2 separate regions of the Homo sapiens genome follow, and region 2 is linked to region 1. Evidence: promoter capture Hi-C in human tissues and cell types (Jung and others, 2019). All regions are on one chromosome and are shown on one strand. The core of a region is centred on a gene start or on the middle of the fragment in contact, and the rest is flanking DNA. Distances in the headings are between cores, read along the strand shown.

Region 1 (2,664 bases), core at 45-2,544:
CCACCCATGCCACCAGCCCCTGTTTCCTGGACAGTGGCGGGGCCAGGCCTGAGGGCGGGTCGCCGGGGTGGCTTCTGGGGTAGAGGTAGCCATAAGGCACAAAGACGTCCGAGTCCGCCCGGTAGGAGAGCGTCCAGTTGAAGAGGTTACTTGCCAGGCTTCGCAGCCCCGGGGAGTGCGAGGGCGACTCGAAGTTCATCCAAACCCAGCGCTGGCCCGGGGGCCTGGGGCTGGAGGTCGCCAGGGCTTCTGCCGCCGCCGCTGCCTCCTCGTAGTCCAACACGCGCAGATCCACCTCCTCGGCAGTGTGCGCCTGGATGCCCCAGGGCGGGGGCCAGTCGGGGGGCCCCTTCACGAGGTCGCGGTGGTGGAAAAGCACGGCCTGAGCCTCTCCGTAGGACGCGCGGTCGGTGAGCAGGCGGCAGCCGCTGATGTTGAAGCGCAGCCGGCAGTCAGGGGGCGGCCTCGGGGCGCTATCGCGCCCCCCGAAGGGCTCCCACCACAGCAGCACGCCCACCGGTCGCGACGGGGTTGGCGACGCCCAGGGCAGCGGCGGCAGCTGCCCCCAGCAAGCGTAGGTGATCAGCGCCGTACACGTCAAGCCGGCGGCCGCCAGCACACAGACGGTCCATGGCAGCCCCCGGCCTCGGCGCCACCCGCGCCGCCCGCCCGCCGCCGCCGTCGGCGAGCCCCACGGTGCCCCCATGGCGCGAACAGGCAGCGCTGCCTCCGCTCGCCACGCGTCCGCAGGCGTGGAGGAGCGGCACCGGCTCTCATGCTGTAGCTGCGGCTCCAGCCGTCGCTGCCGCTCGCCGCTGGCCCGGGAATGGAAGGGGGCGGTCCCAGAATGCAAAGGCCGCGGGCCCTGCCCTGCTCCTCCCAAGTGCCGGGCGGGGCGAGCCGCCAGGGCAAGGTGAGCTGGCCAGGACGCCCAACCGGGCACCGCCCGTCCCTTTCTTCCACTGCGCCCGGGGCCCAGCCGGCCCGACCAGGCCCCGGGAGCCTCCTGCGGCGCCTCCGCCCACTCCTTCTCCCAGCCCGCGCCCGAGGGCTTCCGGGCCGCGCCCCACAAGCGCCTCATCCGCTACTCTTGATTCTCTCTCAACTGATCCGGTTTCCCTCTGCGCGCGCCCACCGCCCTGGCCCTCGCTCACTGTGGCCCGAACCCTCGCCTTCCAGAGGGAAGGCCCGGTTCATCCCTGGGAAGGTACAGGAGGCTCGAGACCTTCTAAAGCAGCTGCCGCGCAGGAGCAGGCCCTAGAACAGACGGAAGGCGGACCCGGCGCCGCGGAACGGAGGATAGCGTCGGCTTCCTGCCGTTGGGCCTAGCCACCCGCCAGCGACGCCCGCCGGAGGGAGGGATTGAGGGAGGGAGGGAGTCCAGAGGCCGGGGGAACGTGCGAGCAGAGGCGCGGCCACCGCATCCGTGGCCAGGATCTCGTGGCCCGCCGAGACGGTCGAATTGTGGAGGCAGCCCGCAGCGGCGTGGCCTTCAGAGTCTCTGCATTTGGTGAAGAACTTAAGTTTTCAATGTGAGTGCTCATAAGAACATTTCCTTTGCCTGCCAGCCCAGTAAAGGATAGAGAACAAAATGTTTTCTTAGCAATCAAAACATGTTCTTTCCTTTGGTCCCCTACCAAATAAGTCTGACTTGCCGGCTCATAGTAGTATTGCTTGTACCAAGACGCACAGGACTCATAAACCAAAGATGAAGATGTGACCCCCCCAAGGCCCTTGTCGTCAAGGAATTTATTGCCTGTTCAGTGAGATGAATGAATGAATATCACTATTAATTTTACCAAGCACTTAAAAAACATTTTCTGCACCCATGAAAGTTATGCAAAATAGTTTGGATGATAAAATGATGACGAAGATAAATATTCTAGCACCCAAGTTAAGGGTGTAAAGACAGTATCGCACTGGCCTCTTCTACCTTATTAGGCGACACTGGAGACATCTACGTCTACAGTCACTTGAGAAATTTTTTACCTACGGGTTGAATTTGAATTTCTGGGTGTTCGCTTTGGTTTATGATATTCAACTTTTATTCAGGGGATTTCCAAATAGATCAGGGGCGGGGCTGCTGACCTAAGGAGAGGAGAAAGTTTTGAGAGAAGTTTTAGTAGATCACAGCTGTGCATCAGTGGAGTCCCACTGATACTAGGGGAGAAATAGACAGTGCTGGGAATGGGGCAATCCTGCCAGGTGTTTTTGATGTTATGCCTACAGAAAATAAATTTGCGTTAGCCATATGAATTTAAGAATGTTTTCATTAAAAATCAAGTATAGGCCAGGCGCGGTGGCTCACGCCTATACTCCCAGCACTTTGGGAGGCCGAGGCGGGCGGATCCCGAGGTCAGGAGATCGAGACCATCCTGGCTAACACGGTGAAACTCTGTCTCCACTAAAAATAAAAAAAAATTAGCCAGGCTTGGTGGCGGGCGCCTGTAGTCCCAGCTACTCGGGAAGCTGAGGCAGGAGAATGGCGTCAACCCAGGAGGCGGAGCTTGCAGTGAGCCCAGATCGCGCCACTGCACTCCAGCCTGGGCGACAAAGCGAGACTCCGTCTCGGAAAAAAAAAAAAAAAAATCAAGCATTGTGTGTAAAAGCTTCTATAAAAGTGGCTTCCGGGTGGCGCTCTCTGCAGGGCCACAGCCTCAGTTT
Region 2 (2,664 bases), core at 105-2,604, 34 kb before region 1:
TAAAATTATTTGGACATACAGGCACAAGGGTGCAGGAGCAAAAAAAGGTAGAATTAATTTAAAGTTCTGAAGCCATAGGCCAAATGGTGTTTCTTAGTCTTGCCTACTTTGGGAATTATTTTTTAAGGTGCCAATTTCAAGGACACTTACAGCTCTTATTTTAAAAATACCAGACCACCAGCTTCATAATTAAGAAATCAATTACTAGTGAAATCTTAATTAGGAAGTCTTTTTTTAGCTCTCAGGCAAGGGAACAGGAAAAAGGAAAGGAGTGATTCACTCATTCCAACTGTCATGAAAATCAACTAATCTCTTAAATATATAAGTATATATGAGGAGACCTCAAAAAGTTCATGGAAAATATGTATTATGAAAAAACTATGCATGGATTTCAAAAATTTTGCACCCAAATAAACTCATACTAACAGGATCCAGTGTGAGACACTAAGAATAAGACCTCAATTTGAACAGAGACCCTGTCAGAGCAATATGAATTCTGCTATGATTGAAGCCAGAACAGACATCAAATTTTGGCGATACTTGGGTAGAAGAATGGCAAAATCATTGATGTATAATGAAAAGTTTATGGGAACAATGCCCCAAAGAAATCAGCAGTTTACGAATGGATAACTCATCTTAAGAAGGGATGAGACAATGTTGAAGATGAAGCCTGCTGCAGACCATCTATACAGATTTGCAAGGAAAAAAAATTCATCTTGTTCATGCCCTAATTGAGAAGACCAAAGATTAATAGCAGAAACAATAGCCAACACCACAGACATCTCAATTTGTTTAGCTTATACAATTCTGACTAAAAAATTAAAGTTGAGCAAACTTTCCATTCAACGCTTGCCAAATTCATTGCATTCAGATCGGCTGCAGATAAGAGCAGAGCCGTCAATAAAAATTTTAAATAAATGGTATTAAGATCCTGAAGCATTTCTTCAAAAAATTGTAAGAGGAGATGAAACCTGGCTTTACCAGTACGATCCTGAAGACAAAGCACAATCAGAGCAATCACTACCGAGAGGTGGAAGTGGTCCAGTCAAAGGAAAAGCCAACCCATCAAGAGCAAAGGTCATGGCAATAGTTTCTTGAGATGCTCCAGGCATTCTGCTTGTTGACTTTCTGGAGGGCCAAAGAATGGTAACATCCGCTTATTATGAAAGTGTTTTGAGAAACTTTGCCAAAGCTTGAGCAGAAAAATGGCCAGGAAAGCTTCCCTGGAAAGCACCACAACAATGCTTCTACTCATTCTTCTCAACAAACAAGGGTAAGTTTGCAAAAGTTTCAATGGGAAATCATTAGGCATACACTTTACTGCTGATTTGGCTCCTTCTGACTTTTTTTGTTTTATAATCTTAAAATATAAAACAATGTAAAGGGCACCCATTTTTCTTTCGTTAATAAGCTAAAAAAGACTGCACTGATGTGGTTAAATTCCCAGGACCCTTAGTTCTCTAGGGATGGACTAAATGGCTGATATAATTGCTTATAAAAGTGTCTTGACCTTGGTAAAACTCTTGGTAAGAAATAAAGGTAGTTTTTTAAATTCTTACCTTTTAATTCTATTTTTCCACAAACCTTTTGGAATCTCCTTGCATATGCATATATATGTGTGTGTGTATACACATATAATAAACACACACCCACATATACAGTAAAAAAACTAATCATACTATACCTTTTCTTCTAGCTTTTGTGACAGAAAAAGGATGGCACCGTCGAATGCTTTTGCTTTGTTGGAAAGTTCACTATGACTATAAAGTAAAGCAATTCTCAGCCTTCTAGATGCTAAATCTGGAATATATGTCACATGGTACTGGTATAGCTGCCAGTCTTGGGGAAAATCTAAGTTAAAGAGGTTTGTAACCAGTTTCACAGGTATTCCACTGGAACCTGAAGAAGACAAACAAAAAACAATTTTTTAATCAGGAAATCACATCATGTTAATATTAATCACACCATTTAAAAATGTATTTGCCTATGCATAGTAGTTGCTTTAAAGCAAGGATTTTTGCACAGTGACACAGGATAAATCCTAAAACTTGCAGCCTAATAACACCTTTGGGAGCTAAAATGGGATCATGCATGAAACAGGCCTCTTAAGAACATACGAGCAGACACTGACATTCCTGTCCTTGTGAGACGAGAAGCATCTGAACTCAACCATTCCAGGACACCTTTCAAAGCTTGCCTTCCCGCTCTCATTCTCTGCAATTCAAATCGGCTCAAGTAATATTTTCAGATGCTGCTCTGAAATTATACTGCTCTCATAAAGAAACAGTCTGGTTCTTACTATGAATATACAACCCCCAACCTCTGGGAAATCCAGATAATCAAAAGTTAATCATATTTCTGAAAATTCTGAAAAAGTTATATCAGTGGTTAGACCAAACAATCTCAGAGAAGACCCTCAGAGATTAAGGGGAAGGCTGCGGAGAGAGGAAGGAACTGTCATTTTTCCGACGTGAAAACAGACAAGGTTTCTGGGCTTCTGTTTTCTGCAGACACATGGAGGCCATGTGTGCTTCCGGGACTTCCAGCCCCTTACAGACATTTTTATTCACATCTTAAAAGTCTATAGGACAAAATCAGAGATGGCCACGATATAGTCAGTTAGTGATCAGGATGGTGTAAGCTCCCCCCAGGGTAGAATCCAGG

What was found. The method cuts DNA at HindIII sites, captures the fragments that hold promoters and counts their contacts. A contact is called where the count stands out against the background at its distance.
Region 2: a contact is called between a fragment that was not itself captured here and the fragment with the promoter of FUT4 in region 1, in 1 of the 25 tissues and cell types used here (H1 embryonic stem cells).

What each region holds. Positions count from the first base shown.
Region 1 is chr11:94,542,551-94,545,214 of GRCh38, reverse strand. It overlaps FUT4 (fucosyltransferase 4), which reads right to left and starts at 1,294. Exons shown (of 1, transcript NM_002033.4): 1 at 1-1,294. The coding sequence starts at 1,081. RefSeq lists a silencer at 537-1,106. The HindIII fragment of the contact is 7,218 bases long and covers 1-2,664 here.
Region 2 is chr11:94,576,513-94,579,176 of GRCh38, reverse strand. PIWIL4 (piwi like RNA-mediated gene silencing 4) reads right to left here. Exons shown (of 20, transcript NM_152431.3): 4 at 1,685-1,899. All of the region lies in intron 4 of PIWIL4-AS1 (PIWIL4 antisense RNA 1), which reads left to right. Among named protein-coding and RNA genes, the nearest start is that of PIWIL4, 10 kb to the right of the region's middle. The HindIII fragment of the contact is 5,000 bases long and covers 1-2,664 here.